7 separate regions of the Homo sapiens genome follow, and regions 2, 3, 4, 5, 6 and 7 are each linked to region 1. The links are contacts of gene promoters, found by promoter capture Hi-C in blood cells and fetal thymus (Javierre and others, 2016). All regions are on one chromosome and are shown on one strand. The core of a region is centred on a gene start or on the middle of the fragment in contact, and the rest is flanking DNA. Distances in the headings are between cores, read along the strand shown. Region 1 holds the start of CAVIN2-AS1 (CAVIN2 and TMEFF2 antisense RNA 1). Region 2 has its middle 5.1 kb from the start of TMEFF2. Region 3 overlaps TMEFF2 (transmembrane protein with EGF like and two follistatin like domains 2). Region 4 holds the start of LOC107985833 (a long non-coding RNA gene). Region 5 overlaps TMEFF2 (transmembrane protein with EGF like and two follistatin like domains 2). Region 6 has its middle 110 kb from the start of NABP1. Region 7 overlaps TMEFF2 (transmembrane protein with EGF like and two follistatin like domains 2).

Region 1 (3,648 bases), core at 472-2,971:
GTGTTACTATTGACGAATGGCATTGTTCCATTATCAATCCCTGACCTGGTATGAGCTGGCATTTGTTCGTCTCAAAATTGTTCATAGAAGGCCTATTACAAACTTCCTGCTGAAAGCACTTTCAAAGGCTGGATACGTTTAAAATCAACTCAAGCATGTAAAGCCATTTTAGGAAAATAAGCCCCACATCCCAAGGTTCAGCTGAGGAGGGCCACATTTGAGAACAGGTGTGCCACTTCACTGAGCAGGAATTTTAAAATGTCAAACATTAGAACCACTTGAGAAACTCCAACTCAGCCTGCCAACAGACACTTCTGGGCACGTGTCAATAAATGCCTTGCAGAGATGGGCATTTGAGAAAGTCTCTCCTCACCAACTCAAAGTTAGTTAAAACAAATCATCACGGTAGGTTCTTAAAAAGACCACATTTTATTTTTCCTCAGTCTCACTTCTTGAAAAAAACAATCATTTTTTTAAATGTGGTCATTCAAAAAGTTTCCATATATTACATAACAGTCATAACAGCAGTATTACTTTTTTTAAATATCCCTGAAGTTCAATCTCTTTTAACTTATTTTGTATCTGCAACTGCAAGAGTAATAAGAACTGAGCTGTTTTCCTTATCATTATCAGAGTTAGTCCCATTCCTTTGCAAATGAGAAACTAATAATACAAACTTGGCTGCAGTACCCTTTAAACTCTATGCCTCCCAGTAGGACACCCGGTGTTCTGCAACCCATCAGTCAGTTCTAGGGCAAATGCAAACAATACTTTCCGTTACAATAACTTGTATCCAGGAAAAAGAAACAGGCACCCTGTTGCATCTGCAGCATAGCAGCCAGAGAAAAGTTTACCAGCTTTAGCCAATTGGAAGCTGTGGAGCTGGGCCAAGTTAGCATGTTTTTCTCCGCCTCTAGATGAAGTCATGATTGAAATATGACATTGAAAGGGAAGGGGAACAGGAAAGAAAAGCTAAACCTGCAACAAAGTGTCCTGTGCCCAGAACGCGGTTAGGAAGTGTGTGCATACGTCTGAACCCTAAATGGTTCTCAGTTCTGTAAACTTCTCCTCCCACTGGGTGGAGTAGGGCCTTTAAGAGCAGCTGGAATGCAGTTCCCCTGATCAGCGTAGCCAGTTGTTGCCTGTCTGAACCTCTGCCAGTCCTGGAGACTGGTGCCCTGAGCTCCAACCAGCGGGCCTCATCCTACACCCTCACCACCGCAACTTCTCACCCGAGCAAGAAGCAGCTCCCAGAGAGAAAGAACGTTCCCACCTGCCTAGCCATGGGAGAGGACGCTGCACAGGCCGAAAAGTTCCAGCACCCTGGGTCTGACATGCGGCAGGAAAAGCCCTCGAGCCCCAGCCCGATGCCTTCCTCCACACCAAGCCCCAGCCTGAACCTAGGGAACACAGAGGAGGCCATCCGGGACAACTCACAGGTGAACGCAGTCACGGTGCTCACGCTCCTGGACAAGCTGGTGAACATGCTAGACGCTGTGCAGGAGAACCAGCACAAGATGGAGCAGCGACAGATCAGTTTGGAGGGCTCCGTGAAGGGCATCCAGAATGACCTCACCAAGCTCTCCAAGTACCAGGCCTCCACCAGCAACACGGTGAGCAAGCTGCTGGAGAAGTCCCGCAAGGTCAGCGCCCACACGCGCGCGGTCAAAGAGCGCATGGATAGGCAGTGCGCACAGGTGAAGCGGCTGGAGAACAACCACGCCCAGCTCCTCCGACGCAACCATTTCAAAGTGCTCATCTTCCAGGTCAGTTCCCCCTATGCCTCCTTACAGGCGGGCTGGAACTCCTTATCATTCTTGATCTCGCTCATCCTGGCTCTCACAGCCATTTTTACATTTGTCCTGCCTGTCAGGGATCACACATACAAGGCACTGTCCCCTGTCTGCCTGCGGAAAGCAAATGTGAAATCTTCACACAGGGGTGGGAATTTCCCAGGTCACTACAGACTAATCCAAAGAAGATGTCCCCGGGCTTAGTAGGCCCCGGGTCATTTGTCAGGGAGCACCTGGATGCACTCTGTACAGGTTGGGAAGATGTGCAGGTGCGTGCACCCTAGTCAAATTCATTTGTCTCTTTGCATTAGGAGCTTAGGGCTCTGGCTGCAGCTGTTAGCTGGACAGGGCAAATTAATTCAGTGGCTGTTCATTAACTCTTAGTGGAAATGAAGTGATCATGTGAGGTATTTTGTGGTTTTTTTAACCAAAAAGTCAAACTATCCCTTTATACAAAGGCTATCAACGTTTTGGGGACCAATCAAATAGAGGATTGATTCCATTAGAGTTAGCCTTGTTCTTTTAAGACTTTTTTGGGGCAAAGCAATCTTGTGGAGTTCTTTTCTAGCAAATGCACTAGAAAAAGAGAGTACAAACACACTAGACGTGCCTCTCCTTGTTCAGAGAGACCACAACTGTTAAGTAAAATAAAAGGAGTGTTATCAGTTATAGTCACAAAGGCTAGTCTTAAATGTTTCTCCTTCAAACGGTTGCCTTAGAATAAAAAGGCCACTTAATTTTTTTTAATGCATCAATGATGCAATTAATGTAGCAAGAGGCTATCTGGGGACAGGGAGATTGCGTGGGGCTCTTGTTCCGCCAAGTGGTGGGCATTTGTGAATCCCAGGGCAGCCCTGCCTAATGCTGGAAGCCCTTCCGCCCAGTGGAATCCAGCCAGCACAGAGCCCAGGAAGCGATTGCCATCCTCGCTCCAGGGCTGTCTCGTTGTGACCATATGAATAGGAGAGGATTTCAAAGCCATGGAGGGGAGAGGCTATAACCAACAGTTTGATTGTGAAAGGCACACAGGGAAAGCCTTCATCTCCCAAGAGAGATTTAGAAATTGGGATTTAAACCGAGGGAGTCTTCTTTTTCAAAATGAATCTGCTCTGCCAAGTTAGAAGCCTTCCTACCCCCATAAAAGGAAAGACTCATCTCGCTGCTTTTTTGTCCTCCTCAAATTGCACTTGAATATTGTAAAGGTTTAGGGAGCCTATGTCCTCCTCTACCTTGCAGGCTTTTGCAGCTGAAAACTTTTCAGCTTTTAATGCAAATGCAGTAGCTTTTCATGCACCAGATGAATTGAAAAGAGATACTGTAACTGGGCCTTTCTTAAGCCATATGAGATCCTTACTTTATTAGCCTAAGAGATATTAGAAATCTCAGCTCTCAAGCCATTTCTAAATTAAATACTGATCTCCAAACAAAACCAAACATGTACAGACCTGTTTAAGTCTGAGACACCAAAGGAAATTTTCCTGCTTCCAGTATGAATCAGGCAAATTATCTCTTGTCCCATCCCTCAGTTAAGGAGGAGGAAAAAAGTATTTATCTTGTAGAGGAAAGTCACAATTCGTCAGGATTGGGTTTTGTTTTGTTTTGTCATGGATGTTCTGCAGATGTTGGGGGGAGGGATGGAGAGGATATGCTAGTAGAAATTCAGGAGAATTATAAATCTGACATTAAAAAAAAACTGCTTGGGAACTTAAAGGCATATGCTGTTGTGAGGGTCTGACATGGTCTCCTGTTTTGTCACATTGAATTGACAGGTGTGAAATTGCAGCCAGATATGGTAGAAATTCTCCATATAGTGAGTAAAAGCTGAAACAGGGGTGCTCAAGACCAAACTGGAAGC
Region 2 (3,648 bases), core at 502-3,001, 350 kb before region 1:
ATGCAGACAAAGAAGGATGTAAATAGCTAAAGTAAAAAATAGAGACAATGCTGCCCCAGAAAGATTAAAAGTGTGCTTTAACTCTTGATGATTTCCTATTTGTATATTTCAGTCCTTCCCATAATCTATGTCCTTACTCCACTAGAGTTCCACAACATATTCTTCCTCTTTTTACACCAGGGTTTCTTTGTTACCTCAGTATTAAAATGAACTCTGGCCAAGACAATATATAGAGGCTCAGAGAAACTAAGTAACTTATATCCATCTTGAATATAAGTGTTTATAGATTGGCTTTATCTACAATAGATGTTTATTATATATTATATAGTATTATTGTAAAATTATATATTTTACATTTAGTACATCTAAAAATGGGAGATATCTGTATAGCGAGTGAGCTTTTTAATGCTTATAAATGTCAAGGCAAAGACTGCAACTCAAATAGTCAACAGCTGCCTAGCTCCTGTCATGTGATCTTGCCATGTCATTATATTGGAAGCTCTAATAATAATCAGCAAGTGGCTAAATGTCCAGATTTATACTGTAAAGAAATAAGTATAGACATGTAAATAAGTCAATTAAATTCTCTTTTAAATCTTTTGAATTTTCTATTTAAACACTTTTAACATGTTCAACAACATAAGACTCAGTTTTTTGGAAAGTAGTGTTATCAGACACAATCTGTATCTGATTCTGTGTTACAATCACTGCTAAGGAAATGACAGTATCCAGTTTAGAATTTATGTAAGGTAAAATAAAGGAAGGAAGATTTTTAAAGGCGGTAATGTGGTGGAGTACAGGAAAGGCTAACATTTTAATCATTTTCCGAAAATGCTTATGATGTCAGAATACATTACATCAGAAGATACAATTGTGGAACATTTACACTACTAATGTAAAGACCTGATTGTGAGCTGACTTCATTGGTGAAAAGACAAGTCAAAGGGAATGACCAGCCCTGGCACCTAAAAATGGCAACACAACTTTTCAAAAGGCTCATTCATTCCTTAAACTATTGCTACTAATGGAGTAATATATGGAAATCCATTGCCATAGTTTATTGTAGTGGTTTCTTGCTAAAAGGGATTCATGATCAAATAATGTTAGAAAATCTGAGGTCAATAAAGTTAAACCGGTGTTTAGTTTTGCTTGATGTGTTTTGGCTTGATTTCACTGCAGGGCTCCTCAGAGCCTTTAATGTGTAAATGCACACTGTGAAGCTTCAAGTGAGCGATGTTTATATTAAGTTTTCCTAAATATTGTATGAAAGAAGTTCCTCCCCTCCATTTTTCTATTTTTTCTTTATTTATTTTTTTAGAAGAACGACAAGTGGGTAGAAGAGCAGCAGCAAAGCGGCTGGGAACATTAGTGCTCCGGGGGTCTGTTCTACCACTAACAAGTAACTTGGAGAAAAAAAAAATCAATGTCACAGATAATAAAGGGAGAAATGATTGGGGCTTATGGTATGAAATAAATGAGTAAAATGCTCAGAATATGCAATACTGGATGGTGTTAATAATACAAATTGGAAAGAACTACCTTTACTAAGTCTTTTTCTAATTTCCCCCAATAGAAGCCATGAGTAGCCAAAGAGAGACATGAAAGGTAGTTTCATTCCAAGCTGATTCTAGTTCCTGTTTCTGACTCCAGAGAATAAATTTCAAAATGAGTTTGAAATAAAGCATTAGGCTAAGCCCTAAGAAGGCTATGATTAAATTAATAGCAATGGAAACCTACTTGAATTTATAAATAAAAAGACACCAGATTGTATAGAGATGACTACTGCTTATTAAATCTAGCTCTCTTCCAATAACAGTTCTTCCTTTTTTTTTTTTTAACTACTGGCAAGCTAGTGGCAAACATTAACTAGTTCATATTGCTTTGGCTAGATGTTTTAATAGTCTTTGGTGAGATATGTGTTTTACAAGTTTTAATGGAGAAAAATGTAAGTATTTTACCTCCTGAAACTTGGCTATTTGAGTAATGAGAAAATAGTCACTTTCCCCAGGACAGTGGTTCTCAATCATGGCTATGTGTTTCTCCAGGAAAACTTTAAAAATATATATATACCAATGCTTCTGTGTCACTTCTAGGGATTCCAAGTCTTTGAATACGAACTCTGCATCAGTATTCTTTAATTATCCAGGTGATTGTGATGTGAAATCATGACTGAGCCCCACTGCTCTAAGATGAAATAAACTTTCCTCAGCACTGAAATCACAAACTTAAACTACCAAAATTAATTAAGGGCATGGGAATCAATAAGGCATAGGGAAGCTTTTACATTATAAAATTATTTCTTTAAATCACAGCTCATTGTTTATATGTTATTTGCCATTGTAGAAAAGGGTGAAAAAATAGCAAATTTAATTACTCTCAGTTTGAAAAATTATCCAGAAATGAAGATGACGACTCTGAAACATTGTCAATATCATTTGACCTATAAATAATGTTCTAATACATTTACTACACACTGATAGATACTTTTTCATATGAATATTATACATTAAAACTAAGGCAATAATGATTTAGAACATTCTATCTATATCTATGTATCTTAAGTAGGCTAGAAATTAAGATATGAGTTATTAAGTATGAGATGTTAAGGTGTGGGGTTAGAAATTATACTGTACTTCATTATCAATAATCAACATATACTTCAATATCACATACATTTAACTTTAATTTGTACATCTTTAACTATTTTTAATTATGTGTATAAATATAAGTACACACATCTTTATGTATTTATTTATTCATACCTCCATTCACTTATTTATATAGGGGATCCCCCCAAATCCACTACCATTAAACCATACATTTTTATTTTAATCTTTAGAACAAGCCCAGGAGGCAGGTATTGTTATTACTCACATTTTACAAATGAGGAAATTGTCTACAGTCACAAAGTTACTGTGTCAGACATATTAGAAGCTTAATACATATTTGGTGAACATATGCATAAAAACAGAGAGACAGACATGTACAACAGCTCATCTTTACACTGAGTAAAAGCTTTTAACCTGTCTCAGAAACCTCTCTGTGAAAACTGAGCAAAAATCGAGGTATCCTTTCATTTGTCATATAGGTATAGGTGGTACCTTACTTCTCCAACAAGGATGAATATTGAAATGTGGATCCCAAGGCCCAACTCCAGATTTTCTGAATCCCTGATAGTGGGACTTGGAATTTGTCTATTGTTTCAAAGTTTCTCAAGGAATTCATATGATCAACCAGGTTCAGAAATCACTGGATCTTATTGCCGAAGTTTGAGAATTAAAGTTTGGGCCTTACTGCGGCTCCACAGAAAGGGCAAATGAAGTATCATGGACAGAACTGATACGTTCCCAGTTAGTTTCCCCTCTCAGAAGCTAACAGGCAGCAATACAGCAGAAATTAGTGACTTATGTCTTGTGCTCTGAAGTCAGGCAGAATTTCACAGAGTCCCAGCAGTGTCACTGACGAGATTTGTTTCTTGGGGCAAGTTGCCTGATGCTTTCAAAGCCATATTCCTTTTATATAAAATGAGATAATATTCTTTGTCTCATAGGGGTGTTTTAAAGATTAAATAAAAATAACATGTTCTATCCTACATGGCACAATGCCTGACACCTAAGAAGCAAAGGATACATCTTACCTTTATTGAAG
Region 3 (3,648 bases), core at 471-2,970, 330 kb before region 1:
CATTAAAGCCTCCCATAATGATTTCATAATGATGCCATGGACTTAAGTGATCATTTTTCTAAACTATTCCTTCTTTTTTTTCCTGGCTGTTTCATTTGTGTCAAATCAAATATTGTCTTAAGGACCATGCCCCTTGAAGTTTTAGAAATGCATGTGGGAAATACAAGCTAAAATGCTATTGGCATTTTTTTCTGATTTTCCCCAGTCATATGTATTTATTAGAATACTCGTAGATGAATAGGCAAGATGTTTACTGTACATTTTAATTATTATGTTCCTGACAGTGCTTAAGCATTTAATATATGCTACTGTGCAGTAAGCCTCAAAATAGCCCAATCGGTTAGATATTACTGTACCCATTGAATAGAGGAGGAATATGCTTAGCAAGGTTGAATAACATTTCTCTGTCATGCAATGAGTAAGGTTTGGAGTTTGTAACTCCTAAGCCTTTATGCATTTCCCATTATGTTCATATAAGTGTAGAGTGATGAACAACACATTTTCCTTGACTTAAAGAAGTTTATAGGGGAAAATTTAAAAGAAACTATATACATTTAACTAAAATATATTTAGAATGTGTTATCACTGTAATACCACAGTCTGTTATTTAGCCCTGAATGAGTATAAGTAATACTGAATTAAACTTTCAAATTAATGCAAATACAATCAATTAAAATTTTTGTCTGTGAAAGTATACAAAAAGCACCCAAGCACTGTTCTGTCCAAAAGAGATGGTGTTGTGACTTATGACAGTCAGTTTAGTTGGTAGGAATATTCTAATATCAACATGAATTCATCAGTCTTTCTTGGTCTATTATCATTAAACAGTCAATTCTTATGATTAAAATCCTTGTTTGATTCTACATTTACTAAGAATAATTTTTATCATAAATTATTTTACCAATTAACTTGCCTTTAAGGAAAAGATATGCTGATCCAAAGACATATGTCCTGTCACATTAATAGTTAATTGATTACTTGACATTCTAATATAATAGTATTAGACCCTATAAATTTAGTTAATGTGGGCCTCCAACAAGACTGACAGTTCAAACTACTGCTCCTTCATGGTACTGCTAATGCCAATACATGACAAACAGGAGGGCTGCTGGGAAGGCCTTCCTTCTTCCATATTTGTCAGCCTTCTGTGGATTTTCAAACACCATGCCTCTTTCTATGTGGTGTTTCTCAATAAAGTATCATGGAAGCAAACAAGTAAAAGTCATGTTTTATTTTAATTGGACCGTAAATTCTTAAGAGTGGCATTTGGTATAAGTCTTGAACCCTGGGTGAGATTTCACTGTGGAATAAGGGCACATCAGGCAGAGAATATCAATATTAATCTTATTTCCCTGTATTAACATTAAAATACATAACCAAATGTATTGTGAACAAACAAAAATGGAAAGTCAGAAGGAAGATGATGTCTACACTTAAGAAGCAGAAGCAGATGGAATCGTAATGGTTTTGATTTCAACTTGAAATTTTGTGTGTTTCTGGGAACTACCTTCCCAGAAATAGACAACTTTGACCAATTGTAATTAAAGGAAGGAAGGGGAGAGAAGAAGTGGTGAAAGAAAAATCCAGAAGAGGAAGTATGATTTTTTCTGCAAGAATCATTTAGTGAATATCTGACTTTAAGCACAAAGGCAAAAATTAAGCTGTCTTCTACTGACTTCAAAAACAAAGGATGATTTGACACAGATGGAATCATCCACAATTGTGGTATTCGTAAAACATATCAACACCCATATAAAATATATTTCTTTTTAAACTGCTTTTCTCTTTGTTCATATGCAATTTGCAAGAATACAAGCCTTAATTATGGGTTTATTTGCCACACGCATTAGACTATTTAATTTCTGAAACTTACTGATTGTTACAAGCATCTCATTTTTAATACTTTATTTTGCTAATGGCACCAAATCCAGCCTGTCAAGATTAGGAATTTTTCATAGCCGAGATTAGGAAATTTTCCAAACGGGGCAATAATGTTTTCGTAAAGCTCTGGAATAAAAATGATGGATAATTTATTATAGAAGTTACATTAATAGATATTAAATTAAATTGATGTGAATGTACGTTTTTGGATTAAATATTAGTATTTTTCTCAAACAATATTATTGCAGTATTAAACTAAGAAAATAAACTTGAGCTTAAAAAGTCATAAATATTTTTGAATATGTTTTACTAGCAAATATAACTTTTCCCCCCACAGATGCAGGATCAGGATCTGGAGATGGAGGTAGGAGTTGCCTTTTTACATATTTGAAGATTTACTGGTGGATATTATTATGTATATTTACTTATGTATGTTCCATTTCAGATATTTAAGACAAATTTCATATTTTGCATTTTAGGAAAGGTGAAACCATAAAAAATTGTCACCATATTAAGTACATGTATATACCGTGCAAATTATTTGGCATACTTATGAATCATACTCTATCTCCAGTTAACCTTCCTTGTTCATTTGTTTGTTTGTTTGTTTGTAAGTTATCTTTGATATGGATAGGCATAATGTAAAAACTTCTGAAGAGAAGCATGTAAGCATATTTGGCAGGGAAGAAAGAATTCATGAGGAAATCATTTAAATATTGGATTTTTAAATATATGACACTGCTCTCAATTACTAGGTGCTAATAAGACATACATAACCTACCATATAGCCAAGGTTTTAATTATCAGATTTATAATTTGAAACTGAAGGAACTTTAGTTCATAAAAGTGAAAAAGATAAAATGAAGTCCAATGAAAGTAAAATATTATCTTTGCTTCCTTGATTAAATCTATAGTTATTTTTACTAAAGTATGATATATGTTCCCATTATTTAGTTTTGTTTAGGGAAGTATATAAGATGAGAGAGAGAGAGAGAGAAACTTTAAAAGTTTGATCTAATGTACTTACTACCAAATAAAGATTTTACCTATAGATTGAAACTAAATTGTAAATGTCCCAAATACTTTTCCCGATGAAATTCAAACAAAATTAGACTTTTATACACACAAAGCAAAACAAAACACAACCTATATATAATTTCAAGATTAAGAAAAACAAAACAAATAAAAGCATTCTCTCAAGACCTTGCTTCAGTTGTGTAAAATAATTAAATGTGCTATTCCAAGTTGATTTTAGTTTTTAAATACAGAATTTGATAAAAGATAAGTAAAAGAAGGCCTTGGGTTCAGGGTGGCAGATATTTAGTGCACCCTTTATCTAGTTCAGGAAACACTTGAAAGATTTATCAAGTTTCCTTATGTAATGAAAGACTTAACTAGTTCAAATAAGCAATACCCACAGAACATAATTAGAGCAGCATATTGGAGCACAATTTTTTTTTCATAAAGACTAAAACTGAACAGCAGCAGATTGAAACACAATTTTTTTCCTAAAGACTAAAACTGAACAGCAGTCAAGACTCAAGCATAGAATATGTTTCAATGTCCCATGATGTTGGACAGTCCTTTGATGTCTGGACAGTCTTTCTCTACTTCTAATAAAAGTTTTCCTAGCTGATTAATATAGTATTCCCAAGAAAGCGTCCCTAGAGGTTTTGAAAATAAGACCTTAGAATAGCATATTAAATCTTAAAGAAAAAAAAAAGACAGGAAAAAAGGCAGTTCCTTTAGTAGATGTTTTACCATGGG
Region 4 (3,648 bases), core at 397-2,896, 330 kb after region 1:
TTGTTTTTTAATCTTTCCCACTAGAGTGTAAGGTCCTTACATTGAAGCCAGCCTCTATCTCCTTGTTTATCACTATATACCCATGGTATAGCACAGTATCCAGCACAAAGTAGGTGCTCAATAAATATTTCTTAGCCCAAATTACTAAGTTGTCTGAAACTTTAGTAGTGACATTAATTTTAGCCTGATCTAAAGAAGCACTGTTTTTAGAATATTTACACTGACAGCAAGTCTTCTTACTTCCTCTCTTACTACATTTTTTATTAATTAAAATTTTTGTGGTTTATGCTGTGCATTTTTACGTTTGCTTACTGTTGTCATGTATTCCATGAGAACAAGCAGGCTGTCTGTTTTACTTATGTGTTTATTTATTTATTTTTATTTTATTTTTAGATGGAGTCTCACTCTGTCACCCAGGCTGGAGTGCAGTGGTGCGATCTTGGCTCACTGCAACCTCCACCGCCTGGGTTCAAGCAATTCTCCTGCCTCAGCCTCCCTAGTAGCTGGGATTACAGGCGCACACCACCATGCCAGGTTAGTTTTCGTAGTTTTAGGTGAGATGGGGTTTCACCATGTTGGCCAGGCTGGCCTTGAACTCCTAACCTCAAGTGATCCACCTGTCTCAGCCTCCCAAAGTGCTGGGATTATAGGCGTGAGCCACCGCACCTGGCCTTGTTTTATTTTTAAAAAGAACCATGCTTGACAGGTTTTTAGATTGATCCCCAGCCCTACTGCCCAGTAAACCAATGGTTCAGCAATGGTAACATAGAGACCTTCAGCTTTTCAGCCTAAGGCTTTCTATTTTTACCCGCTACAAGACTTAGCTTGAGCCTTGAGAGGAACTTACCTTAGTTTTCTTAAGGGTCTGTAGCCAATAATGTTATCCATATGTCTTTTTAAAGCCTTAAATGGAATTGATGCAAATTCACTAGTATCCATTTATCTCAGTTCTGCAAAACCAAGTTAGTAGAGCCATGCAGCCAAGGTCATACTGTTTATTCCAGAGACTTATTTCCCCCATGTGCCTTTTCGAGCTCCCACAAAGGACTACTAGTGTTATACTTGCCCAAAGTGAAAGCACAACATGAGATTCTTGTAGTAATCTGTGTTCTCCTCCCTCTCCTTTCCCTTCCCCGCTTGCCATTCCTCCTTCTCTCCCCACCCGCTCAGTCATCAATGAGTTCCGTTCTGTCCCCACTCTAATAACTATAAATGACACCAATGCCCAGCAAGGAGCAAAGGTCAAACAGCTCTCCTGTATTCTTTATTTTTCTACCAAGATTGCAGGATTTATGTGGCAACAAAGAATAAAGAACTGGGCAGCAAATACAAATTTGTAAATTTTAAGAACAGAGAGCTTAAAACACAGTGCCCATCAGAAAAAAATATACATATATTATAATTGTTTCAAGTCTTGAAAAAGAAGTAGTCTTTGCTGTGGTGAGCAGGCAAATAACAACAACAGATTCCTGAGGGAATGTGATAGGCTTTTCCTATGATAGGCTTTGAATCAAATAAGTACAGGTCATGGATTTTCAAATATTTTTCTAGTGTGTCCATTACTTTCCAAAAGGTCCATCTCTCTGCTGTTGCTGTTGCGACAGCTGCCAGGTTCTCCAAGCAGAAGGAGGGAGAGAGGCTCCTGCAGCTTCCCCAGGGCACTCGACCCCTCCACCCACACACCTTCATAAAACATTCAGAAACCTCTCTGCTCAGTTATATGTGCATATACCACTGCACAATAACTGTCCTAACCACATGTTATCCCAAATAACCTCAATGGCACTGTTATGACAGACTACGAACAAGGCATGGGGACTCAGCCAGGATTATGTAATAGGGTTTTGGCCTGTCTTGAAGCCAGGAGTGATTATTTCTACTAATAATAGCTATCATTTATTAAATTCCCACCAGGTGCCAGCTGCTTTATATATGAAATAATGATGAGAGGTGGTAACATTTATTGACTTGCTCATTATATGCTAGGTACTGTTACAGATTTGTAACATGTATTTTCTCATTTAACCCCTACTCCCCCCAACTGCTATATATTAATTTTTTTAGCTATATATTAATTTTTTTATTATATAAAAAAGGGCTATATATTAATTTTTTTAGCATCAGTAAATAGATGAGGAAACTGAGGTGCAAACAGTTTAAATAACCTGCCAAGGTCACACAAGTAGTAAATGCTGGAGCTGGGACATGAAGCCTGGAAGCCCAACTCCAAAACCACACCCTTAACCATCATGTTAAATTATCTTCCTGGTTGAGTTACTTTTAATCCTCATCAAAACTCTACTTTATACCCAGTTCATATGGGAAAACTGAGGCTCACAGTTGTTAATTAATGTAGGTAGTAGCTGGGGTTCTGTTCAGTGTCATGAGACACCAAAGCCTGGGGATGTGGGGTACAGAGCTCTATCACCCCAGGAAGTTCTGTGGCTGTCTAGCCTTGGACAAAGGAGTTAAGTCGCTGAAGTTTTCTTCAAGAGCTTCCACCTTCTATCTTTTCCATGTTTGATCCCCTTTCCATCTCTGAACTCTCCCTGAGGCCCATCGCCCCCTGCCACCACCCCTACCCTCCCGTTATAAAACTCTTCTTTGTCTCCTTCCTGAAGGGGCCTCTATAAGGGAACTCATAAATTAGCCCTTCCTAATTTTTCATGGTATAATATTAGCACTTTAGAGTGCTGACTCTGCTGAAAATGCAAATCTCAGGCCACACAGACATAGTGGTCCTGACTCGGTAGAGCTGGGTGGGGCCCAAGGATCTGCGTTTTTCAGTAAGCACCCCATGATTCAGATGTGGGCAGCCCAGCTTGATTGACTCTAGTGCAGTATGTCCACACCTTCTGACAGAAGATTTGCATCATAGAAAGGGATTTTATGTTGGGGATTTGAGGTCAGGGCAAGTGAGATATTAAAGCAAAAAGACCTTCGGATTTTGTTTTTGTTTGTTTGTTTTGGGTTTTTTCCTTTTTTTTTTTTTTTTTTTTTTTTTTTTTGAGACGAAGTCTCACTCGCCCATGCTGTAGAGCAGTGGTGCAATCTTGGCTCACTGCAACCTCCACTTCCCAGGTTCAAGCGATTCTCCTGCCTCAGCCTCCCAAGTAGCTGGGACTACAGGCATGTGCCACCACGCCAGACTAATTTTTGTATTTTTAGTGGAGATGGGGTTTCACCTTGTTGGCCAGGCTGGTCTCAAACTGCTGACCTCAGGTGATCCGCCCGCCTCGGCCTCCCAAAGTGCTCGAATTACAGGCATGAGCCACCATGCCTGGCAGGCCTTTGGGTTTTGTTTTCCTCTGGCTATCATATTGGTCAGATTTGGGTATATATTTTACTTATGTAAATTTTAAAGTGAAGGCCTTTCAAATACTCTTCTCTTAAATTTAAATAATTGGTCTTTTAAAAAGACAGAATAAAATTTAAAAGTTCCTGTTTATTACCAAAAAGCTTACTAAATAATAACTTTTCCTTTATTTGGTCATTGAATATACGCATATCTCACACGTGAAATAAACAGTGTTGGAGTTCCTTTTATGCTGAAACCAGGCTTCTTTCCAGGTGTTTCAAGGGGTGTGTCCTGAGGAATAATGTATAGTTTTTAAAGACACAATTTGTTTTTTTCTTTTTTCTTTTCTT
Region 5 (3,648 bases), core at 744-3,243, 280 kb before region 1:
TGAGTTCTTACTTTTATTTTTTTCTTTAGTTTAAATTATTTTATATTTGCAATCCTGGAAGAAGAAATAATAGTAACTGTTTAATTCCTTATTTCACTAGACAAATTAAGATTGTTAATACGTACGCTCACAGAACAAAAAGTAATAATTAAATGACAGTTTTAGTCTTTAAAAACTACAAATCACAGTGCAATACAATCTAAATCACTTATAGACATTTTGCATCTATTTGTTTTATATTTAGGGAAAATAATACAGTTGCAGTTAAATTAAGCTAAGTGACCTATGCTAGGGTCAGGCGAATTATTTCAATATTCGTCTTTGTTAATTTGTTTTTAGAAAAACTGCGGTAAGAAATACAAATGTAAATGACTAAAAACAAAGACTTGGCATGACAAATAATTCCACAAGTAAAATTAAAGGACTGTTTTATGATGTATGTACTGTAGATTATGCAGTGTTGTGGGCCTCAATCTTGCTTGCTAGTCACACAAACATATACAAAGGACCTTGCTCCCACAGATGTACACATTTAGTCCAAATCCTCAAACTGGGAAGTCCTGGAGCAACATCAGCAACTCCCTCACCATAAATATGGCATTTCCTTAATTCTATGCTGCACTATTTTCATATTTAATATTTCTGAAATCTGGATTCATCTTAGAATTGAAATGTAAGAATGCATGTGGGGTCCTCAAACTCTTGTTCCACTGCATGGGGAATTTTTCAGGTTGACATAAACTAAAGTAGTATTAAAACCCATCCCTCTAAGAGTGTCTTTTTTCCTTGGATGGCCCAAAAACTATGTACATCATGGTCAGAAAGGTATTTTTCTGAGGATATTGCTCTTTTTTTTTTTTTCTATTAAACATGCTGGTAAAATGTGTCAGAGTATACTGCTTTCTACTCTTATAAAATAACCCGTGGGTTATATTTTCAAGATGACAAAAGCTATTTAAATGAGATAGTTAGTGGACATTTTTAAAAAACTGAAAATCAATCCAGAATATGTGCTTGAGGAACTCTCAGGGAACCAATTCGAAGATTTGCACGAGGATCCCAGGATTCCTAGTCATTTTTTCAGCCTTGGGCCATGTAGGTACACAGAAACATAAACTGGCACCAGAGCTAGAATACCTAATTTAGGGGCCCCAGGCCAGGGGGTGTTAAGATTGCTGGGTGCTCAACACTCTCCTATGGGGCACCCAGGCATGTCCCAGAGGAAATGTGTGGCTACTGAAAAGTGCACTGTGGTTGTATACATCAGATGCACAAGTAACACAAAAGGCACCACATGTGCCACACACTGGAGAGTTTTGCTACCTCCCCGGGGGAAGCCAAAATGCGCCGCTGCAGCACTTGGAATGAAAATGCATTTTCTGTGAGCAACAGCCTCCTTTGAAGAAACTGCTTTCTCTTTCAACATTTGGAAGCTGCTTGGCAACCCACAATCAAGGTTTTCGTTATGTTGTTTTAAACAGGCCCATTATCAGTGTCTCATCTCTCTGAAAGCTTCAGACTTCATCATACTGTTTTTAAAGATTAACATATTATACCTGATAAGCTTCTAAAACTTGCAGCCTTACTAAAGCTGACTGTTCCAGCACTTTCTTCCTATTAAAAGTGAGTTGCACAAGAATTAAAATAGATACTGTTTGTCTACTCTTTTCTTGCGATAAGAAGGCAACACTTCACTTGTTCTGATGTTCATTTTCTATCCGTACATTCAGGAATTCATTTTTAAGATGTCCTTTCTTTTGTCAAAATGTTAGATCTGTGCAAGAATTTATAAAGGAAAATCATTTCAGACATGTTTGTAATAGGCAATATTAAAAGTAAATTTGAAGGCTACAGTGACTTATTGCAATATTTTGTTTGTCAATAGTCTAATTAGAAACTAAGAATATTCTTATATTCGACTAATGCTGATTTGTTACCTCACCTGTCAATTCTTACATAGTATAAAAGTAGATTTGGAAAAACTGAAAATAAATATATGTATAGACATTGAGCAAAAATAGCATTTTTAGCTTCTTGAAAATTGTAGGCTTTATCTGTAATGGCAAATTTTAAAAAAATTGTGACAGATGCAATTTATTTGGACCTAAGTTTAATGAGTGAAAGGCTGAACTTATGTAAAATACTAAAAACTACAGTGCCCTAAAATCTAAAGTTGCAATGGCAAATCAAGATTGGAAATATTAATTATCACTACCTTGCACAGTAGAATTGTGTGACTTAGGGCTAAGAAAAGCTACAAAAGAGCCCAGAACTACATATCTCAAAACTTTAAATTAATGGGTTTCCAAAGAGGAGTTATGTAGCACATAAAAATTAAAATTAAGATTAGAAGAATGTAATAGTGTAAGTTGAGTAGATAGAACATTTCTTACGTAGTTTTAAGGATTTCTGCTAAGCTTTGACTCATTGATAGCAAGAATAACACACAAAGTAATATTATTACTTAAAATTGTCACGACTTATTGAACTAACTTATTTAAGATTTAAGCTACAAAGATTGGGCCTTTCAGTTAACATAAAACAAACAGTTACATAATTGTACTGTTGCTCAATTTTTGACTTTAGACATAGTCAGCTCATGTTCTTGTCATGTGTTGAAGCACAATTTTTCAACGTTAGCCCCAAATCATAGTTCCATGCCAGCAAGTGAGGTTTCCCCAAAATAAAGAGGATTTCTCATCCAGTTTGAACAAAAAATAGCTACATTGTTGATTTGTTGAATGTTTTTCAAATGCAATAATTTTTACATTTTGGATTTAGAGAAGAGAGAAGTAGGAGAGAAGGCAGGAAGGGTAACACTTAAAGACAGAAGGGCAAATATTCTAACACCATTGAGTGTTCACTCAGAAAACAGCAATGAATTACGTGGCCTGTGATATTTAATGAGCCCTGTATAATTTGCTCTATTATTAGTCAATATTTGGCTTTCTGTGAGCATTTACAAAATTATACCTTGATGAACAATAGGTCAAGTCAGTTTTTCCTTCTTGCTGACAGAGAATCATTGAATCTTTTAAAAATTGTCAGAGGTGATCCAGATGTCATTAGTGCACTAGATTCTTTCATGACTTGGGGAGGAGCCACAGACTCTCATCTGTCAGAAAGCCTGGTGGAGGGATGAGTTGCTTGGCACTAATAATCTCATTCATGTACTTAGTGTTACAGCTGTCTAAATAAGAGTGCTTTACTGTTCTTATATTGGCACATAATTAAATATCAGTTCTAAGTTACATAGCAAAACAACAAAATTCTAAAACCCAAAGCAAAAATTAACTTCTATATTGAAATACTTGAATTGCCTGAAGTGGGAGGAAGGGCATTATTTTACAGCAGCCAAAACAAGCTTTTGTTTGTTTGTTTGTTTGTTTTGTTTTGTTTTTGTAGTTAGAAGGCAACTCCACGTAGTGAAGAAGGACAGGTTTTGGAGTTTAACCAACCTAGGTTTTACCACCTTGAGGAATTTACCCTGTCTCTCTGAGCCTCAGTTTCCTAACATGACTGTCAGAGGGAACAAGATCATGAATGTAAAACATCAAATATCCTAAGTGTTAGTCATTTCTCCTTCTTTCTAGTTGCAAGTATGCCTTACTTCCTTCATACCAAATGTAATTACCATAGCAGTGTCTA
Region 6 (3,648 bases), core at 744-3,243, 280 kb after region 1:
TAAACATAGAAATACATTTTGGCAAAATTAAGTTGCATTGTCACAGAAGTGTGACCATAAAGTAATAAGATTAGTTTCCTTGTCAAACTTGTGGAAATCATTTGTCATTCTGTATATGTATGTATTCTATAATTGTGTTTCAAATGTAGCAACCCTTAAGTACCTGGTCTCACAAATACATTGGAGTCTCTTCTCAATTCCACTTTCACCCAGTTAGATTTATGACTCTCATAAATGATCCAAAGATTCGGGCTCCATGATTACAATGGACACAAAGAGAAATTAGGTAGACATGAGGCATTAGGGCAAAACACATAGGCCCACCCTAATTGAGTAGGCAGCTACCACTCTCCATTCTAATAAGCCAGTTTCAGTTGTACTAGAAAAGTCCTCTTGTCAATAGGAGAAGTCCCAAATTTTCCATCATCTGCATGCCTGACACCCGCATGGCCGACATGCCTTTAACTACCATTTATGGACCAGGTACTTTATATACCTAATCTCTAGTCCCTATAGCCACTCACAAATGTGCATATTACTATCATCGTTACTATTTGACACATGAGAAAATAGACTCATAAAGGTTAAATGACTCGCCTAAGGGCCCACAAGTGATAAGTAGATGAACACAGATTAGAACTTCTAATTACCAATCTTCTGTCTTATTTCCAAGCCTTGTGACTCAAAGACAAAGCTTGTCATTGCCACAATTAATGTTCAAATGCAAACGTAGACAGCATAGGATAATAAGACTCTGTGTCACTCACACTAAGGATCCAATGAGGAGAGCAATGGAGCCCCCATACCTGGTAAGAGTGGGGAAAGAAAAGGTTTCAAAGAAGTGAGTCTGAGGGTCCTAGGGACACAGTGTGCCTTCTCACAATTCTACCCAGGGTGGGGCGACTGAATTCTCAAAGCCTTGTCTTATTTTATCTCATGAGGCAAAAGCTCACTTTCATTCTAGGGCTTCAAAGGTAGCCAGCACATTTGAATTACCCAATTTGTCATAAAAATATTGTTAGGAAAATGCCCAAACTATCAAAGATGAATTAAATTTTTCTGGCAGCTTGAGTTGGACTCATGTCTCTTCTTTCATTTGATATGTTACTGCTTGGTTTTTCATGATCTTGATATCCTTGCTTAGAAACAACATTCTCAGACACCAGGTATCAAGTAAGGGTTCAGGCCCCACTGCCTGAGTTCAAATTTTCAGAGTTTGGAGGAAGGCAGCCCAAGGGTCACTGGAATTATAATAACTTAAGGGAAAAAAAAAAAATATATATATATATATATACCAAGTTAGGCTTATGGCTTCCTCCCTAACTACCCAATGGAAAGAGATAGGGAGTAAGATAACTAGATGACATTTTTGGTCATTGTTGTTCCTAAAGGTCAACGTTTCTTCAGCTCTGGTTAAATTTTCAGCATTCTTACTTCTGCATGTTCTGTCCAGCCCCTCCTATTCCTATAATTTTGAGGAAGTCACTGAGGGAAAGTGCTGACTCATAAAATTAGTGACTGGAAGCCAGTAAGTGACAGCACTTACAGGCAAGTTTGTATTAAAAATGTAATGATGTCAAGAAATTTCTCCAGGGACTTTGGCTTTTTATTGAAGTAAACTCATTTTCCCAGGTCTCACTTTGTTGCTTTTCATATTTGCAACTTTAATGACCAGAAAAAAAACCCCACAAAAAACCCAAAACGAAACAAAACAAAACAAAAACAAGCAGAGGAAGAAAGAAGGGAGGAGAGAGGGGGTGGGGAGAGAGAGTAAGAGAAAGAAATACGTGCATTAAAGAAAGGATTTGTTATCAGTACCCTCTTCTGGAAACACAAGAATGTAGCCTGGAATCGAGCTGTGGCATTTCTTTGATGAGAAAACAAAGAGATTTACGCTAGCAGACAGCGTCAGGCTTCCATGTGTCTGATGTTATTTGGGGTTGACATAATGTAGTAGAAAGAGCCCTAAACTTAGAAATCAAAAATTGTGGATTTAAATCCAGCCTTTGCTCCTAACCTTCTACGACCTCAATATTTAAATAATTCGGTGTTTTAAGTATAGTAGACCATATATCTGGATTAGAATCACCAGAGGCTGTTGCTAAAACTGCAGAATCCCAGGATTCACTCCACCATCAGAATCAAACGGCAGGAATAGGTATGAATCTCAATTTTAAACAATTTCCAGGGAAATTCTTAAGTAGTGTTCTGGCTTCAGTTACCTAATCTGTAGGTAGATAACTACAGATAACTGATGATTTTCTTAGATTAAGTGACCTATAATGCCCCTTACACATCTAACGCTTCGTGATCTTATAAAACAAAACAGAAGGAATGATTCCTCAATGGATTAACAAACTGTGATGGATCCATACAGTGGATTAATCCTCAGGAGTAAAAAGGAATGAATTATTGATACATGCAGCCACATGCATGAATCTCAAAATATTTATGCTAGGTGAAAGAAATCAGACAAGAAAAGATGATTTCATTTTCATAAAATCCTAGAAACCGCAGAGTAATCTATAGTCACAGAAAGCAGACTGGGGATGGGGCAAAAAGAAGGAGGTCTTACAAAGGGGGCAACTATGAAACTTTCGGGGTGAAGGAAATGTTCATTATCTTGACTGAGGTGGCGGTTTCCTGGGTAAGCACATATGTCAAAACTTGTGAAACCACACACTAAATCTCTGCCGTTTACTATAAATCACTTACCCCAATAAAGTTGAAAAAGAAAGAAAAGAAAAAGAAAAGAAAAGAAAGAAGGAAGGAAGGAAGGAAGGAAGGAAGGAAGGAAGGAAGGAAGGAAGGAAGGAAGGAAGGAAGGAAAGAAAGAAAGAAAGAAAAAGAGAAAGAAAGAAAGAAAGAAAGAAAGAAAGAAAGAAAGAAAGAAAGAAAGAGAAAGAAAGAAAGAAAAAGGAAGGAAGGAAGGAAGGAAAAGAAAGAAAGAAGGGAAGAAAGGAAGAAAGAAAGAGAAAAGAAAAGAGAAAAAAGAAAGGGAAGGAAGGAAGGAAGGAAGGAAATAGACTAGGATCTTGGGGAAGTTTGGATATCCATCTTCCTGGATATCCAAAAAGATTTCCTGTCTACCTATAATAGACAGGAATCTGTCCTGAGTTAGAGGACAGGAAGAGTGAGGGTCCCTGGACTGAGAGCAGGGAGCATTTGTTAAACAGGGGAGGATCTGCAGGCATCCTAAATCGCTCCACTTCAAAGGCCAGAAAAGTAATTTGGAAGCTGTAAGAGCAGAGCTTGTGCAGTGGTCTGCGTGAGCTACAAGCCAGAAGCTTCTGCCTGCTGCCCAATCCATCCACAGCATTGTGGATACTCCCCACCTGTCTCCCTGTTTTGTTGCAGAGGTGGGTAGTGCCTGGATAAGTCCTCACGCTCATCACATTCAGCTCAGGCTGGCATCAGGGCTTTTGAGGCTGTATCATTGGTAAGGCAGTGTCTGTTTAAAATTACCTTGCTAGGCCAGGCACGGTAGCTCACGCTTGTAATCCCAGCACTTTGGGAGGCTGAGGTGGGAGGTTCACTTGAAGCCAAGAGTTCAAGACCAGTCTGGTCAACAGAATGAGACCCCCATCTCTACAAAAAAACAAAAACAAAAATAAAAATAAATTAGCTGGGCATGGTTGTACACACATG
Region 7 (3,648 bases), core at 467-2,966, 260 kb before region 1:
ATTTACAGTTGAATAATTTATGTTATCTTTAATTCATCCAGTTAAATTATCCAAGATGAATACAATATGAATAGAAGAGGTTTAAAATTGTCAGGTTTTTGCATTAAAATGTTTGCCAGTAACCACTTTCTATTTTTTATTACCATTTTAATGGTTTCATATATTGCAATATGAGTTAGAAGACTAAGCTGGAGTATACAATGTAATGAGTTTCCAGGGTTATAAATATTTGACCTATGTCTTGAGACATTAAAAGAAAACCTCTTATGTAGATAGGTTATGTATTCACTCAAAGAAAACTAACCTAAGTGGAAATTACTCTGATCTGCCCCCTAAAATTTCACCCACCATATTCTTTCCCTTTCTCTGAATAACAGCATTCTTCAGTTGTTTATGCCAAAAACTTTGGAGTCAACCTGATTTTCTCTAAACGCTACTTCTGTCAGCAAATCCTGTCAGAAGCTACCTATGAAATAAATTCAGCGTACTTAGAAATGCCTACTGCTACCCCCTTTTACCTTAAGCCAACATCAACATTTTATCTCTTGTTCTCTCTCTGGATTGTTAAAATAGTCTCTTAGTTCTCCCTGCTTTAGTGGTTGCTTTCCTTTGCTTTCTTTTCAATACAACCATCAGAATGTGCCTTCATAATGAAAGTTGGAAAGCGTTAGTCCTCTCAAAACTCCCGGTGGCTTTTCCATCTTGCTCAGAGTAAATGCCAAAGGTCTTATAATAAACTTCACAGCAGTATACTGATCTAGACCCGCTGCTATTCCTCTGATTTTATCTCGTAGCACTATCTTTCTTTTTCCCTCTACTCTCTCAAACACACCAAGCATGCCCTCACCTCAAGGCTATGGCATCTCTGCATATAAAACAAAGACATACAATTTCTCATATTCCTTCTCATTCTACTAATGACCCCACCATTGCTTTGATTCTTACCAAGAGAGCCCTGTAATCAAGGTCTAAATGTGACTTAATTTACGGTTCATATAGCATTCTACTAGGTTCTTTACCTGAAGAGTTGAAAACAAGACTACCTTCCTGTAAGCTTACTTAACACAAAGAATTAGATACTGAGTCAGAACTCAGGTTTCGTTAATGTCTAATTAGCAAAAGAACAAGATAAAGTAGGAAGGCTAGATCCAAGTCCTAGTTGAACTAAATGATTACTGTACATCTGAAATGGAAGCAAGACAAAGACCAATTATTCTAAGGAGAAACAAAAGAGGGCAGATGTCTTAAGGTGAATCCAAAACTAAAAGGTCCATATCCAGGCCGTAATCCAAGCAGAGGTGTGAACAGGATATGAGAAAAAATCTAATACCTGTCATTGGTGAAAGTACTTATGAGTGGTCAGTTGGTACTAAGAAAGGGGCGTGGAGAAAGGAAATACGACAGCAATTGTACCCACTTTGGGATAGTGATATTCATAAAAAGAATTTCCTTGGGAGCAGGGATAAACATCAGAAAACAGAGTTTTAGAAAAAGAGAAGATCAAGAAGTACCACGTTCGATGAAACACTGAGTTATAGGACAGTGAGTATCATTGATAGAATAGAATTTAATTTCTGAGTGTCTGGGCAGCCAGCTCCAAGTCTGAATTAGTGAGAAGTCACTATTCCCATCATTAATGTCCAGAGTGACCCAAAGTTTTTGGGAAAAACTCAAGTAGTCCCAGATGCAGTATTCCACACCACGGAATGCTCATAGAAAAAAAAAATGAGTTTCATTTTAGGGATCAACTACAGGTTGCAATTTTCAATAGGATGGTCAAGAAAGACATTATTGAGGCCAGGAGTGGTGGCTCACGCCTGTAATTCCAATACTTTCGGAGGTTGAGGTGGGCAGATCACCTGAAGTCAGGATTTCAAGACCAGCCTGGCCAACACGACGAAACCCCGTCTCTAGTAAAAATACAAAAATTATCGTGCCACCTCACTCCAGCCTGGCGACAGGTGAGCCGAGATCATACCACTGCACTCCAGCTTGGGTGACAGAGCAAGACTCGATCTCAAAAAAAAAAAAAAAAAAAAGAACAAGAAAAGAAAGAAATTATTGAGAAGATGATATTAAAATAAAAATAAAAGGAGGGGAAGGAGAGAGGGAGCCATGGAGATATCTAGGAGCAGAGCATTCTAACCACTGGGGACAACTGCAAAGGTCCTGTCTTAAGAATTGCAAGAAGGCTAGAGTAGGGGAGCAGAGTGAGGAGAAAGAGAAGCATGGAAAATAGGCTTGGAGTTGAGGCACACCCGTGGGACCCTATACACAACCATGGTTAAGACTTTGTGTTTTATTCTGAGTGAAAGAAAATGCTCCGAGATGGTTTTTTAACAGAAGAATACGTGATCTGTGTGCTGGTGATAAGCTTGTAAGCATGTCCTTTATTCCTGGACTAACCACTGCAAAATGGTTAGCTAAAAGCTGAAAGAGAAGTAAATGCAGGCTTCATTTTTTTTGTTTTTCTTTTTTATGTGATAATAGGTTCTTAGTATATGAGCTTCAATAATTTGTGCATAGTGTTTTATATACCTCTCCCAGACATACTATTTATTATTTAGCTTTCTAATTCCTTCTAATTTTGTAGCTTAGTCACGCCAAAACTAAGTTAAATCACATCTATGGAGCTTTTGTATGTGCCAGACATTGTGCTGTATGCTTTATATGTAGAATCTCATTTACTCTTCCAACAGCACATAATAATCATCACCACCATTTTATTGATAGGGAAACTGTAAAGCACAGAACTTAGGAATTCCAGAGCATGTATCGTCACCGGAGTTAACATCATACTTGTTTTTGTGGACCTGACTGTCCCCTTCAGATATTTTCTTTAGGTTGCCTAATATTTCGTTACAAGAGAGTACATTCTCCAGGCTGACTAGATGTCTAAGCGAGAAGACAGTCTGCATTTTCAGTCTTTTGTTATAGCATGAGATGCTGCCTGGGACATAGCATAGTCAGTCTAGTGATTCAACATATGTACAAATGAATCAGAACACAGGGTTCCTATCCCAGCTCATCCATTTGCCAGCTGTGTTTCTCACTTTGGTTCTTTATAAAATAACAGTACCTAAAGTAGGATTCAAGCCCTATTAGATTTTGAGATCACATTTTAAGAGAAAGAATACAAAATTAGGCATGAAAGTGAGTATTTATTCATGTAGAGAAAATAAAACATAGCAAAATATGAATTTTAAAAAGTTAACAAATACCACACAAATTATAAACTGCAGAAAAAAGTAACTATATTGTTGTTTTGTAAATAACATGATCCTCTAGAGTTTTTTTCATTTTTTAATCCATTTTTGGCTATATATTCTTCAATTGCCTCTGCACATGACTTCAATTTGGTAATATCACACAACTAATTACACGGTAAAATTATTTTGGGTAATAACCCCAGTATTGTTCTCTTCCAGCCCTGCAGTGAAAGCTGCCCATCAGACTCTGAGGAGGCTGCATAATTAAACTCTACTGTTTCACTAGCTAAGCTGCTGAAACACAGTAAACCAAGTCCTGGGAAATTTCTTTTTCATGGTATACTTAACATCCCATGAACTATAATGTGATATGGAAATCCAGTTTGCAATGCTCTGTTCTTCATAAAACACAGAGTGGCATTATTCTCAAGTACAGTTT

What was found. The method cuts DNA at HindIII sites, captures the fragments that hold promoters and counts their contacts. A CHiCAGO score of 5 or more calls a contact.
Region 2: a contact is called between a fragment that was not itself captured here and the fragment with the promoter of CAVIN2-AS1 in region 1, in 2 of 17 cell types (megakaryocytes and M1 macrophages). The highest score is 6.0, in megakaryocytes.
Region 3: a contact is called between a fragment that was not itself captured here and the fragment with the promoter of CAVIN2-AS1 in region 1, in 4 of 17 cell types (neutrophils, M0 macrophages, megakaryocytes and 1 more). The highest score is 8.1, in neutrophils.
Region 4: a fragment that was not itself captured here is called in contact with the fragment with the promoter of CAVIN2-AS1 in region 1 in 1 of 17 cell types (neutrophils); the score reaches 6.0 in neutrophils.
Region 5: a contact is called between a fragment that was not itself captured here and the fragment with the promoter of CAVIN2-AS1 in region 1, in 6 of 17 cell types (megakaryocytes, M1 macrophages, M0 macrophages and 3 more). The highest score is 9.0, in megakaryocytes.
Region 6: a contact is called between a fragment that was not itself captured here and the fragment with the promoter of CAVIN2-AS1 in region 1, in 1 of 17 cell types (endothelial precursors). The highest score is 5.2, in endothelial precursors.
Region 7: a fragment that was not itself captured here is called in contact with the fragment with the promoter of CAVIN2-AS1 in region 1 in 4 of 17 cell types (megakaryocytes, M2 macrophages, neutrophils and 1 more); the score reaches 11.2 in megakaryocytes.

Annotation. Positions count from the first base shown.
Region 1 is chr2:191,844,561-191,848,208 of GRCh38, reverse strand. It overlaps CAVIN2-AS1 (CAVIN2 and TMEFF2 antisense RNA 1), which reads right to left and starts at 1,721. Exons shown (of 4, transcript NR_187184.1): 1 at 1,438-1,721. CAVIN2 (caveolae associated protein 2) reads left to right here and starts at 1,121. Exons shown (of 2, transcript NM_004657.6): 1 at 1,121-1,766. The coding sequence starts at 1,284. RefSeq lists an enhancer at 908-1,416. The HindIII fragment of the contact is 13,325 bases long and covers 1-3,648 here.
Region 2 is chr2:192,198,169-192,201,816 of GRCh38, reverse strand. No RefSeq gene overlaps it. Among named protein-coding and RNA genes, the nearest start is that of TMEFF2, 5.1 kb to the right of the region's middle. The HindIII fragment of the contact is 1,057 bases long and covers 1,223-2,279 here.
Region 3 is chr2:192,178,265-192,181,912 of GRCh38, reverse strand. It overlaps TMEFF2 (transmembrane protein with EGF like and two follistatin like domains 2), which reads left to right. Exons shown (of 10, transcript NM_016192.4): 4 at 2,219-2,245. Among named protein-coding and RNA genes, the nearest start is that of TMEFF2, 15 kb to the left of the region's middle. The HindIII fragment of the contact is 6,862 bases long and covers 1-3,648 here.
Region 4 is chr2:191,513,863-191,517,510 of GRCh38, reverse strand. It overlaps LOC107985833 (a long non-coding RNA gene), which reads right to left and starts at 919. Exons shown (of 3, transcript XR_001739229.1): 1 at 848-919. The HindIII fragment of the contact is 3,630 bases long and covers 1-3,461 here.
Region 5 is chr2:192,126,583-192,130,230 of GRCh38, reverse strand. All of the region lies in intron 4 of TMEFF2 (transmembrane protein with EGF like and two follistatin like domains 2), which reads left to right. Among named protein-coding and RNA genes, the nearest start is that of TMEFF2, 67 kb to the left of the region's middle. The HindIII fragment of the contact is 853 bases long and covers 1,567-2,419 here.
Region 6 is chr2:191,569,461-191,573,108 of GRCh38, reverse strand. No RefSeq gene overlaps it. Among named protein-coding and RNA genes, the nearest start is that of NABP1, 110 kb to the left of the region's middle. The HindIII fragment of the contact is 2,593 bases long and covers 697-3,289 here.
Region 7 is chr2:192,101,018-192,104,665 of GRCh38, reverse strand. All of the region lies in intron 4 of TMEFF2 (transmembrane protein with EGF like and two follistatin like domains 2), which reads left to right. Among named protein-coding and RNA genes, the nearest start is that of TMEFF2, 92 kb to the left of the region's middle. The HindIII fragment of the contact is 1,320 bases long and covers 1,057-2,376 here.